Regions from separate parts of the Homo sapiens genome. Here regions 1 and 3 are each linked to region 2. Evidence: promoter capture Hi-C in human tissues and cell types (Jung and others, 2019). All regions are on one chromosome and are shown on one strand. Each heading gives the region's core, a stretch centred on a gene start or on the middle of the fragment in contact. The rest is flanking DNA. Distances are from core to core; before and after follow the strand shown. Region 1 has its middle 50 kb from the start of CBLN4. Region 2 holds the start of CBLN4 (cerebellin 4 precursor). Region 3 has its middle 45 kb from the start of CBLN4.

Evidence for each region. The method cuts DNA at HindIII sites, captures the fragments that hold promoters and counts their contacts. A contact is called where the count stands out against the background at its distance.
Region 1: a contact is called between a fragment that was not itself captured here and the fragment with the promoter of CBLN4 in region 2, in 2 of the 25 tissues and cell types used here (dorsolateral prefrontal cortex and spleen).
Region 3: a fragment that was not itself captured here is called in contact with the fragment with the promoter of CBLN4 in region 2 in 8 of the 25 tissues and cell types used here (H1 embryonic stem cells, bladder, dorsolateral prefrontal cortex and 5 more).

The regions. Positions count from the first base shown.
Region 1 is chr20:55,953,432-55,958,047 of GRCh38, reverse strand. No RefSeq gene overlaps it. Among named protein-coding and RNA genes, the nearest start is that of CBLN4, 50 kb to the left of the region's middle. The HindIII fragment of the contact is 3,484 bases long and covers 196-3,679 here.
Region 2 is chr20:56,003,909-56,008,417 of GRCh38, reverse strand. It overlaps CBLN4 (cerebellin 4 precursor), which reads left to right and starts at 2,899. Exons shown (of 3, transcript NM_080617.6): 1 at 2,899-4,509. The coding sequence starts at 4,247. The HindIII fragment of the contact is 15,736 bases long and covers 1-4,509 here.
Region 3 is chr20:56,048,490-56,052,868 of GRCh38, reverse strand. No RefSeq gene overlaps it. Among named protein-coding and RNA genes, the nearest start is that of CBLN4, 45 kb to the right of the region's middle. The HindIII fragment of the contact is 4,295 bases long and covers 150-4,379 here.

The sequences.
Region 1 (4,616 bases), core at 688-3,187, 49 kb after region 2:
ACCTGAAATGCACAGACTCTCATTCTTCCATATCTTTGCCCTTGGTGGTGTTTTTTATTTTGCCTGGAATGAAAAACAAAAACAAGATAACCACAAACCCATCCTTGTAAATTAAAATCTGAAGTCTTCTGAGAGTAGCCACAACTATGAATGCAGTCTTTACTTTGCCCTTACCTGAAAGAAGTCCTGTTAGAAAAAAAATTACCTACACCAATATCTCTAGAGAAGTACCAATTATGATGAGCAATTGATTCCTAGTTAAGCCAAGAAAATAATTTGAATATATAATAATGATGGAAATAGAGATTATCCCAGAGTGCTTACTACACACCAGAAACTATACACAGTCTTCTTCATGCATAATCTCACAATCTTAGGAGACAGGTACAGTGTGGTCTCATTGTATGCGTGGTTAACTTTCTGGTATTCAACTGTGAGCACTGTATGGGGTGAGTGGGGAAGAGAGGAGAAAGAGGAGAAGGGTGGGGGTGGGGGGAAGAGAGAAAAAAGAAATTTAAATTGTGCAGCTGATACTGCCAGCGATTCTAATTACTGCATTTGTATCTCGAATGAGCATGCAATGGAAGCTTATCTTTCAGTGCATTTAATCATCTTCAAGCATTTTATGCATCATTTTAGGACTTAAATATTTATACATTCCATACAGCATGGTTTCTATTTGTAAACTGCTACTTTAGTTGGGAATCAACCAAAGAAGCAGCAACTTGTTGCAGCACGGGAGGGAAAATCTACACTGGACTTGATGGGAGAGGTTCTTCATAGGTGGGTGACCACATGGTTTCTCATCCAAACTGAGGCACTTTTGACAGTAAGAGGATACTTTCAATAACTGTGCATGGATGAAAGACATAGAGTTGGACTGTGTCAGTCAGATTGGGACATATGGTCACCATTTATAGGTACATAAAGCAGTTTTCAAGGATAACTATGTTCATATTTGGCTTTCACCTAATGAATTTAGATTAGAACTTAAGCCCAACACAAAATGATTCCTCCATGCTGTTCATGATTCCCATCAGATAAATGAGGAAACTAAGTGTTAGTGGGACGAGGAAGCTTAGACATAGAGTGATAATATTATTCTAGGCAAATTATTGAGCACTTGCTGTGAGCAAAATCCCATTGTATCTCAATTCTCATCGTAACTGTGAGAAGTAGGTAATATTGTCCCTGTTTTACATGTAAGGAAGCTAAAATTTCAAGCAGTACCTTTCTCAAAGCCAGACAGATAGGAAGTAGTGGAATAAGAATTTGAATCCAGGGCAGAACACAGCTGGTGCTTTACAACTTGTTTCATACTGCCTCTTATAGGAATAACACCAAGGACAACCCCAATAATATTTTGTACTTGCTTGAGACTCTACAGTGTAGCAGTGTACTTCCCCATGACATGCCTTCTTAAAGCCTTTCATCAATGCTGTATGGTAGCCATGGAAGAAATCATCAGTCTTTTTACAGGTGAGGGTGCTGTGGTCAGGTCAAGCCTCTTGTCTCAGTTGCCCAGCTAGGAAGCTCCAGAACCAAGACTAGGATCCAGATTTTATTTCTAGTCCAGTGTACTTGCCATTTTTCAGCCTAGAATAGAGGTTATGGAATCCTCTGGAAGCCATGTAAGAAAGGCATGGATCATACCAGGACAGGAGAGCTTAGCTCCACTAGCTTGGTCATTGGGTACTGAGGGTCTGTAATGTTTTCCGTTCTTGAATTCATGGCCGAGTAGGGAATTCAAGTCAGACCCAGTTGTATGGGACAGAAATCCATAGTCAAGAGCCTAGCACTAAAGAGAAGTCAGCACTGGTGCCTGCCTCTGCCCTCATCCATAGAGTCTAATGTTTTCATCCAAATCTATCTTTTCAGGAACCAGTATATTCACAAACAACTAGGAGAAGGAGTATTGGTAGAGTAGTTGAGAATGAGGGCTCTAGACAGAAAGAGAGACCTTAGTTTAACTCTCAGCTCCAGCATTTATGCCTCCATAACATTGGGATTTCAAAATCATTGTAAACAGATGCCGGTTTTCAGGGGCAATGAAGAGTCTGTGTTTGGCCATTAATACCATAAAGACAGTGGTTCTTATGATTTCTCTCCACCTGAAGTTTTTTGAGTCATTTTGCATGTAAAACTTCATACTTAGTATGACTTATACAATTTATATAGTTATCCATTTATTTTAGAAGAGGGTACTTGACTGAGATTTGCATAACATTTGCCTGGACATTTTTGTACTGTCAGTTACTACCAGTGAAGGCTCACTAGTCAAAATCAATGTAACTGATTTAACATGACAGAGTACTATTTTTCTGAGCTTAAAAAGAAGGTAGATCAAGCAAGTCTAAAATGGGGCACTGAAAATCTTGATCACTGACACTATTATATTTTCCCACCAGCAGGGAAACTGGGGCCACACTAACAGAACCCAAAACAGTGGATCAATAAATGGCCAATCCAGTCCATGCACAGGAGCATATGGGGTGCCTGAACTATTTATAGTCATTCTCTGTCATTTTCTTCTGGAATTAAATGTCAGTGGGACATTTAAGGGAATCAATTTACATTTTAACATATTAGTTGAAAGGCAGGGAGATTCAAGGCAAATTTTGGTTATAATTTACTACGTTAAAACCTGAAGAACTGTGCTCAGGTTCTTTCCCTTAGAAGGATCTTAAAAACTTCATATTTTATGAAGTCAATTGACTTCATTGACTTCTCTGAGGTCCTGTGTATCTGTAATGACAATAGATTCTATGGCACGGTTCCCAAACTCTGCACTATGGTGCTCAGGGCTCCTGCGGTGAACTCTCAGGAGTGGGGCCATGTTTTAAATGTTGGCACCATGTAAATTAATAGGCACATATAGCCCATTAGCAATCAATTGTGGTTATTCAAGAATAGAATTATTATTTAAAAATTTCAGTTTATGACCAAATGTGGTGGCTCATGCCTGTAATCTCAGCCTTTGGGAAGCTGAGGCAGGAGTTTTGCTTGAGCTCAGGAGTTCCAGACCAGTCTGGGCAACAAGTAAGACTTTGTCTCTATTTAAAAAAAGAATCAGTTTATGTGATTTTTTTTTCAAATGGTTAAGATTTTTAGAACATAAAAACTTAATAATTTGTTTGGACCTAGTTACTTAGTAAATGGAACTATTAGGTATTTCTTTTGGCCTATGGGCTCTGTGACAAAATTACTGACACCTAAGGAGATGGAAAAAGCTTGGGAACCTCTGTCCTACAGTGGGTCAAGGGTAGCATCATGAGAAGATGAGATTGCCCCACACCTTTGCTTAGTACCCTCCTGTGGCTTCCCACTGTCCCACTGCACATAGCAAAGCAATGCAAACTCTCTCTCATGAGCTGCTAGACTCACCAGGCCCTGGCTCCTGCAGAGCCTTCCTATAGCTCTCCTTTTCATGCATTCCTCTGGCCACACTGGACTTACTTTTGCTCCTTTAACAGACTCAATTTTTCCTTGTTAAGCCCTTTTGCTCCTCCTTATGTGATATGATTTGAACGTGTTCCCCAAAAGTTGATGTGTTGAAAATGTAATTGCCAATGTAACCGTATTAAGAAGTGAGACCTTTAAGAGGTGATTGGGTCATGAAGGTAGAACCTTCATGAATGAATTAATGCCCTTATTGTGGGAATGAGTGAGTTTTCTTGAGTGCGAGTTGTTACAAAAGTGAGTTTGGCTTGCTTTTGCCACCTCTTTCACATATGCTGACTTGCCCTTCTGCTTTTCTGCCATGCTATCTAGAAGCACGAGGCCCTCACCAGATGTGGCTGCCTGATTTTGGACTTCCCAGCCTCCAGAACTGTGAGCTAAACAAACTTTTTTCTTTATAAATTATCCAGTCTTGGGTAGTGTGTTATAGCAACAGAAAACAGACTAAGACCCTATACCTGGAACAGCCTTTCCCCATCTTCTCAAGGTGGATGCCTTTGAATACTTCAAAAATCAGTATGACCTCTCCTATCTAAAGTAGGTAACTCCCTCCATGCCCCCACATCTTTCTGTCATCCACACATGCTATTTTTCCTATAGCTTTTAATAATGTTTGTAATTTAATTTTTTTGCTTGTTTATGTTTTCCCCCACAATGTGGACTGTAAGCTTCATAAAGGCAGTGCTCATGCTGATACTTTTCACTCTTTGCCTAGTTAGGGCTTTGTCCATAGTAAATACTCAAAATGTGTTTGTTGAATGAATATTCAAGGTCATATCAGGATCCCCAGTCTGTCACGTAGAAACATGACTATACAAGAGTTATTTTAAAGACTCTTATTCAAGATCTGATTATTAAAGAACTAGGTCTCTCCTCAAAGCAGGTCTGCAACATCCAGTTAGGTATCATACCTACTAAAAGTAAAGTATCTGTGTCTTATTTAAAATTAAGAGATGAAGAAAAGATGGCCCTCCAACCCAGCCTTTCTGCTCCTTTGCTGTCCATCAACACAGGACATGCTCCTTCCTGCCTTAAGATTTTTGCTCTTAATAAATCCCATTTATGCCTAGTGTTCCATTACTGGAATGCTAAGCATGTGGGAGTTATTTATATTCTACTGCTCAAGTAGAGTCTTGTCTGATTGCAAAATCACCAAG
Region 2 (4,509 bases), core at 1,650-4,149:
GCAGTCATTGAATTTACTGACCTCAGAAGTATTGCTTTCCTATGCAAGGATAGTTTAGATTCTAATTTACTTTAAAGTTAAGCCCAGCTGCAGAGAACTGAAATGCATTTCTGCGTCATCTCTAAAGGTCTAGGAGAAAAAAAAAATCCTAGGCATCAAATACAATATGGGAATCTCAGAAAGGGAAAATATTTGGGTCACTGCTAGGTCTTCTAATAGCATATTTTCAACTGGAAAAATACAAGAAAAAGAAAAAGAAAAACAGATCTATGCTGTGGTTGGAGAGAAACTTAAACTTGATCTTGTTTCTTTTCTCCTGGGGATGCTGGGGCTGAAGTAGGGGGTGAGGAACAGGTGATGCCTCCTTTCCCAAAATGTTGGAAAAGCATTTCCTACAGGCAGGAGATTGGATTTGTTAGTCTTTTGGCAAGAGATCCATAGCCTTTTGTGGTATGGTTTCTGGGACAATGTTCTAATGAGGATTCTGGATGACAGGGAGCGGTATGTTACTAAAACTAGCTCAAGGGAATTGGGTTTTTATTTCAAAGACATAGGAGGATACCAAGAAACCCAAGGTTAGGAGAAAATGTTTCTGGAACTCTTGTAAGCAAGAGTTCAGAACTGGCGATTGACTATTCACTCCCTGTACTTCTTAGAAGTGCTCATGCTCCAGAATTGGCTTCTTTCTACAAGTGTGGCCAGTCCTCTGGTTTATTCCAATACCTCTTCTGCTTCAGCTTGCAGATGACTCCTACATGGCCACGTCAGTTTGGGAGACTACAAACCTTGTCTCTGCCACATGTAGTGCTTACTGGAAGCTATTTTGATGTCTCATTAAGATTGCAGAGAGAAAATCTGGCAGCCCCAAGTCATCTGGCCAAGTTGGACCATACAAATCTTGGACTTCTGGTATCAAATGCATTGATGGTCCTAGAACCCAGGGGCTATCCGTGTTTAATCAACTGTTGTGGGAAAAAGAGTCAGGACCCTCTGATTCACAATATAAGATAACTTCTCTTAGCGGGGGTCCACAGAAAATGCTGTGTTCCTTATCTTCAGAACACTTTGAAGAGCAGAACATCCTTTAGTAAGGAACCGAGACCCTTATCCCCAATTATTAAGGAGGCTTTGAATTTAAATTTTACTGAGAGAGACTCATTTAAAGCAGTTTATACTATAATATGAGTGATAATTACCTTCTATTAGGAAGCATTCAGTCATTTCTCAATTATTGAGTCTTTACTATGGTCACTATGCAGATTTTGGGACTAAAAATGAATATTTTTGGTGAGAGAAAGAATAGGTTTCTTCAAATCTCAGTTCTTGCGTGCAGGAAGTGCCTGGAGAAGAAAAGGAGGTAGAGAGAATATATTGGAATTGGTGAGGAAGATAGCTTATTTTCTATTTAACAATTCAACACAGTTTTTTTTTTTTTTTTTTTTTTTTTTTTGTCAAACTTCTCCCAGCCTGAAATTGAACAACCAAAGTTCTAGTTATTGAACAGCTGTCCCAGACAAGGAAGGCAGGGTGCTTACCCCTACAGGAAATAAAAGGAACTAAATTCAACTCAGCACCCACCCTCAAAAGACTGCATCAAATGAGAAGAAATTGCTGCTGTTAACCAGGCAGACATCCCTAAAATCTGGAAGAGAGTTACAAAGTGCAGAGAGGGATCAGGTGAAGATTGTGCTGGGCTTAGGGTGGGGCATCAAAGCTGGGTAAATGGTGGCCATCTTCAGAAGGCACTAGTTCACCTTGTTTGGTTGTAGCTTAGATAGGTAACTTTCAACATTTTAACAAATAGCATGGTACTAGCACCTGCCAGCCGGAACTGACACCGGCCTGTAGTCTCAGCTACTGGGGAGGCTGAGGTAGTAGAATCGCTTGAGCCCAGTAGTTTTGCATCTAGCCTGGGCAATATAGCGAGACCACCCCCCACCACAAGTAAAATAAAATCATAAAGTCAAAACACCTGATACTGGCCCCACTGGAGCAGAATCTGAAGGCCCCTGTGGCACCAAGTATTAACACTTTAGTTGAGAGATTATAGGGAGGTGAGGGTTAGGGGATTCCTCGTAGTGTCTTCAATTTTAACAGTTGGAGCTGGTGCTTATAGCTCAATGCCCGGCCCTTCTGAAGGAAGGGAAAAAGGCTGGAGACGAGGTTCACCTTGTTTTGTGGAGGGCTCGAATGCCACGCTCATGAGGGCGTCCTTCACTCAGGAAGGAATGGGAGCCGTCCATCCCAAGGACCTCCCTCAATAAACATCCCTTCCATTCATAACTAGCCAATGCCATTTTAGGAGCTCCGAATGCCTGGAGGGGATACTGTTTTGGTTAAAGATACCATACGTGTCTGCCCTCTGGCAGCTGGAAGTGTAGAAGAAATTGGGGAAGGGGCGCCATGACCCCACAGCATCACAGAATTGGAAAGCTGGCGGGATGGGGGTGGGGAGGACCTTAGTTAACGCCGCGCCCCCCTCTCAGAGAGGGTTAGTGACTCGGCCAAGTTCACGCAGCCGGGTCCAGACAGAGACAAACCTCCCTTCCCCGTGGTAGCTGCAGAAGAGGAAGGGAACTCTTGCAAATCAGAGGCCAAGATAGCAGTGGAGTGGCACGGGGGCGGAAAGCGCATCCAAAGGGGAGAAAAATGCTGTATTCCTAGGAGTGGGATTGTCTTTTATTTTTATTTTTATTTTTATTTTTTTATTGTTGTTGGCACGGTTTCGGAGGACTTATTCTTGCTGAGTTAACTCCCTCTCCCACTCTTTTTTTTGGCCATGCCTGGGGAGGATTCGCGGTGTGGGGGGAAGGCGCGCCCCTGCGGCTTCTGAGGCTCATCTTCCCGGAGCGGAAGGAAGGAATCAGGCACCTCCTCCCAGCCGCCCCCACGGGCTCTGGTCCGCCCCAAGGCTTCCCTGAGCTCGCCAGGCCCCAGGGCTGTGTGGGGCGGGCTCCCGGCCAGGCGCGGTCGGGACGCCCGCCGGTCCCCAGGTTCGGGGCAGCGCGCAGCGCGGGTCCGCGGCGGCTTATCCTTTTTCGCGACCCGGCCTGGCAGCGCCGCGCTCCGCTTGGAGGGCACTCGGCGGCAGAGTTCCGCGCTGGGAGGGGTGAGGGGACCAGCCGCCTCCTCTGCGGACTCAGATCGAGCAGGAGAGAGTGGGCGCGGAGCTGGGGCCAGCGCAGGGCCGTGGGCTCCTCTCTGGGCACGCATCCTTTACGCCACGGGCTTTCAGGGGCTGAGGGGCCTCGAACCTTGCCAATCACCAGTGCTGTGCGCCCCGCTTGCTTTGGGGTGCGTTAAACGTCAGGAGAGAGCTGCTCAGATGGGGTCACCAGACGCCTTCTCCCCCTTTTCTCGGAGCCCGCGGGTTGCGCGATAAGCCAACCCAGCCGGACGCTGCGCTCCTATAAATAGAGCGCGTGTGCCCGCTTCGCGCTCTCCGGGCTGCACGAGGGACGAGAAAGTTGTGCGCAGGGACTGGGGGCGGGCGGCCAGGCAGGAGAGGACCCCGCCGGACCAGCCGCCCTGAACGCTGCGCCCGGCGCCCTGGACCTGATCCTGCGAATCCGCGCTTTCGGTGCGAGGGACCTGGCTAGCCGCTGCCTCCCTCCCTACCTCTGGGTGACACCAGGTTTGGGGGATTTTTTTGACCAGGCGAAAGTGGGAGTCGCTGGCGTCCTGGCCATGAACACAGCCTCGCGTTCTTCTCAGCCTGGGAAGGACCTTCTGCCTCTGTAACTCGTCCCTGCCGCAAGCCAGACAGGACTGGCACCCGCGCCGCTGGGCACCCGCCACCCTTGTGGCTTCTCTTTGAGTCCCCTCTTTTTGTTCCTGCTCCGTGGTTTAGCTGGTGGTGCTTGAGTTTGGGGTGAGAATTTATTATTATTATTATTTTTTGCCTTGAGGTGTGAATGTGAGGGTTTGATGACTTTCAGATGTCTAGGAACCAGAGTGGGTGCAGGGGCCCCAGGCAGGGCTGATTCTTGGGCGGAGGAGAGTAGGGTAAAGGGTGCTGCATGAGCTCCTTAAAGGACAAAGGTAACAGAGCCAGCGAGAGAGCTCGAGGGGAGACTTTGACTTCAAGCCACAGAATTGGTGGAAGTGTGCGCGCCGCCGCCGCCGTCGCTCCTGCAGCGCTGTCGACCTAGCCGCTAGCATCTTCCCGAGCACCGGGATCCCGGGGTAGGAGGCGACGCGGGCGAGCACCAGCGCCAGCCGGCTGCGGCTGCCCACACGGCTCACCATGGGCTCCGGGCGCCGGGCGCTGTCCGCGGTGCCGGCCGTGCTGCTGGTCCTCACGCTGCCGGGGCTGCCCGTCTGGGCACAGAACGACACGGAGCCCATCGTGCTGGAGGGCAAGTGTCTGGTGGTGTGCGACTCGAACCCGGCCACGGACTCCAAGGGCTCCTCTTCCTCCCCGCTGGGGATATCGGTCCGGGCGGCCAACTCCAAGGTCGCCTTCTCGGCGGTGCGGAGCACCAACCACGAGCCATCCGAGATGAGCAA
Region 3 (4,379 bases), core at 1,048-3,547, 45 kb before region 2:
GAGATTCTGGTATATTGTGTCTTTGTTCTCACTGGTTTCAAAGAACTTATTTATTTCTTCCTTAATTTTGTTATTTACCCAGTCAGTAGTCATTCAGGAGCAGGTTGTTCAGTTTCCATGTAGTTGTGTGGTTTTGAGTGAGTTTCTTAATCCTGAGTTCTAATTTGATTACACTGTGGGCTGAGAGACTGTTATGATTTCTGTTCTTTTACATTTGCTGAGGAGTGCTTTACTTCCAACTATGTGGTCAGTTTTGGAATAAGTGTGATGTGGTGCTGAGAAGAATGTATATTCTGTTGATTTACATTCAACAGAATGGGGTGGAGAGTTCTGTAGATGTCTATTAGGTCCGCTTGGTCCAGAGCTGAGTTCAATTCCTGAATATCCTTGTTAATTTTCTGCCTCGTTGATCTGTCTAATATTGACAGTGGGGTGTTAAAGTCTCCCACTATTGTTGTGTGGGAGTCTAAGTCTCTTTGTAGGTCTCTAAGGGCTTGCTTTATGAATCTAGGTGCTCTTGTATTGGGTACATATATATTTAGGATAGTTAGCTCATCTTATTGCATTGATCCCTTTACCATTATGTAATGGCCTTCTTTGTCTCTTTTGATCTTTGTTGGTTTAAAGTCTGTTTTATCAGAGACTAGGATTGCAACACCTGCTTTTTTTTTTTTCTTTGCTTTCCATTTGCTTGGTAAGTATTCTTCCATCCCTTTATTTTGAGCCTGTGTGTGTCTTTGCATGTGAGATGGGTCTCCTGAATGCAGCACACTGATGGGTCTTGACTCTTTATCTAATTTGCCAGTGTGTGTCTTTTAACTGGGGCATTGAGCCTGTTTACATTTAAGGTTAATATTGTTATGTGTGAATTTGATCCTGTCATTATGATGCTAGCTGGTTATTTTGCCCATTAGTTGATGCAGTTTCTTCATAGTGTCAATGGTCTTTACAATTTGGTAAGTTTTTTCAGGGGCTGGCACCAGTTTTTCCTTTCCATATTTAGTGCTTCCTTCAGGAGCTCTTGTAAGGCAGGCCTGGTGGTGACAAAATCTCTCAGCATTTGCTTGTCTATAAAGGATTTTATTTCTTCTTTGCTTATGAAGCTTAGTTTGGCTGGATGTAAAATTCTGGGTTGAAAATTCTTTTCCTTAAGAGGGTTGAATATTGGCTCCCCTTCTCTTCCGGCTTGTAGGGTTTCTGCAGAGAGATCCACTGTCAGTCTGATGGGCTTCCCTTTGTGGGTAACTCAACCTTTCCCTCTGGCTGCCCTTAACATTTTTTTCCTTCATTTCAACCTTGGTGAATCTGACAATTATGTGTCTTCGGATTGCTCTTTTCAAGGAGTATCTTTGTGCTATTCTCTGTATTTCCTGAATTTGAATGTTGGGCTGTCTTGCTAGGTTGGGGAAGTTCTCCTGGATAATATCCTGAAGAGTGTTTTCCAACTTGGTTCCATTCTCCTCGTCACTTTCAGGTACACCAATCAAACGTAGGTTTGGTCTTTTCACATAGTCCCATATGTTCCATATCTAATCTTGTCTTCACACTTTATTTTATTAAGTTGATCTTCAGTCTCTGATATCATTTCTTCCCCTTGATTGATTTGGATATTGAAACTTGTGTATGCTTCACTAAATTCTTGTACTGTGTTTTTCAGCTTCATCAGGTTATTTATGTTCTTCTCTAAACTGGTTATTCTAGTTAGCAATTTGTCTAACCTCTTTTCAACATTCCTAGCTTCCTTGCATTGGGTTAGAACATGCTCCTTTAGCTCGCAGGAGTTTGTTATTGCCCAACTTCTGAAGCCTACTTCTGACAATTTGTCAAACTCATTCTCCATCCAGTTTTGTTCCCTTGCTTGTGAGGAGTTGTAATCCTTCGGAGGGGAAGAAGCGTTCTGGTTTTTGGAATTTTCAAATTTTTTGCACTGGTTTTTCCTCATCTTTGTGTATTTATCTACCTTTGATCTTTGATGTTGGTGACCTTTGGATGGGGTTTCTGTGTGGATGTCCTTTTTGTTGATGTTGAAGCTATTCCTTTTTGTTAGTTTTCCTTCTAAGAGTCAGGCCTCTGTGCTGCAGGTCTGCTGGAGTTTGCTGGAGGTCTCCTCCAGAATCTCTTTGTCTGGGTGTCACCAGCAGAAGCTGCAGAACAGCAAAGTTTGCTGCCTGTTCCATCCTCTGGAAGCTTCGTCCCAGAGGGGCACCCACCAGATGCCAGCTGGAGCTCTCCTGTATGAGGTGTCTGTCAACCCCTGCTGGGAGGTGTCTCCCAGTCAGGAGGCATGGGGGCCAGGGACCCACTTGAGGAGGCAGTCTGTCCCTTAGCAGAGCTCAGGCACTGTGCTGGGAGATCCACTGCTCTCTTCAGAGCAGTGCTGGAGCTGGCAGGCAGGAACATTTAAGTCTGCTGAAGCTGCATCCACAGCTGCCGCTTCTCCCAGGTGCTCTATCCCAGGGAGATGGGAATTTTATCTATAAGCCCCTGACTGGGGCTGCTGCCTTTCTTTCAGAGATGCCCTGCCCAGATAGGAGGACTCTAGAGAGGCAGTCTGGCTACAGTGGGTTTGCCAAGCTGCAGCGGGCTCTGTGCAGTGTGCTCCGCTCAGTTCTAACTTGCTGGCGGCTTTGTTTACACTGTGAGGGGGAAACCATCTACTCAAGCCTTAGTAATGGCAGACACCCCTATCCCCACCAAGCTTGAGCGTCCCAGGTTGACTTCAGACTGCTGTACTGACAGTGAGAATTTCAAACCAGTGGATCTTAGTTTGCTGGACTCCATGGGGGTGAGATCTGCTGAGCTAGAGCACTTGGCTCACTGGCTTCAGCCCCCTTTCCAGGGGAGTAAATGGTTCTATCTCACTGGTGTTCCGGGCACAATTGGGGTATGAAAAAAAAAAAAAAAACACTCCTGCAACTAGCTCAGCGTCTGCCCAAACAGCTGCCCAGTTTTGTGCTTGAAACCCAGGGCCCTGTAGGCACCCAAGGGAATATCCTGGTTTTTGGTTGCAAAGACCGTGGGAAGAGCATAGTATCTGGGCCGGAATGCACCATTCCTCACAGCACAGTGCCGCTCGGCTTTCCCTGGCTAGGGGAAGGAGTTCCCCGAGCCCTTGTGCTTCCCAGGTGAGGCAACACCCTGCTTCGGCTCACCCTTTGTGGGCTGCACCCACTGTCTAATCAGTACCAATGAGATGAACCAGGTACCTCAGTTGAAAATGCAGAAATCTCCCACCTTCTGCTTTGATCTCGCTGGGAGCTGCAGACCAGAGCTGTTCCTATTCGGTCATCTTGCCAGCCACTCTCTCATATTCTTATATAGTTTGGGAATAATTTCCAGTTTTCTTACTAAGTGGTGTATTATCTACCTTGTAAAGGAGATAGCAGCAGCCTCTGCTTATTGATGGTGTAGAATGTTTAATATAAGTTCCATTAGTCTACAGTCCCTGAAGTAGAAGAGCTAAGGATATCTAACGACAAGAGATTAAATTAAGACAGACACTAACTCTTCGTTCTCCTAATGATCATTTTCTCAGTGTGAGTTGCTACTGTTTCAAAAGAACAAAGACATTATGTTTTCTTGCTCTTCCCACAGCCTGATCTGTAGCGAGATATTGCAGCTGGTTAAGGCTGATGCTAATGAGGCCCAAGGTCATAAACTTGATCCCTATCTAGGGCAATTAGTTAACCTCAAAAGAAAATCCACACTACCCCTTCCACTCTAGGCAGCCAGTTCACAATTCCTGACATGGGACATTTTGGGGCATGTGGATAAAATAACAAATTGTTGGTTTGCAGCAATATCAGATATTCAGTTTAACCGTTTTCCCATTTGCCCCAAGAATACTCACTGGTGGTGCTTACAGCTGCAGCATTTACCCCGAGATAACTTTGCCATGAAATATCTCGCTTTTATTATTATTTTCACATTGCTCTATATATTCACTTTGGAAACAAAAGAGACCATTCTATTTACAGCATTCTATTTTTAGTAGTAGTATTTCCATTTACAAAATATAGTAATTCTTGATAGCTGAAAATGTCAAATCCTAGAAAACGTAGCATTTCTTTTTTTTTTTTTTTTTTTTTTTTTTGTTTTGAGATTGGGTCTCTCTCTGTTGCCAGGCTGGAGTGCAGTGGCATGATCTCAGCTCACTGCAATCTCTGCCCCTCGGGTCCAAGCGATTCCCCTGCCTCAGCCTCCCAAGTAGCTGGGACTATAGGCTTGAGCCACCATGCCTGGCTAATTTTTTTTTCTATTGTAGTAGAGACGGGGTTTCACCATGTTAGCCAGGATGGTCTCCATCTCCTGACCTCGTGATCCATCTGCCTTGGTCTCCCAAAGTGCTGGGATTACAGGCATGAGCCAACGTGCCCGGC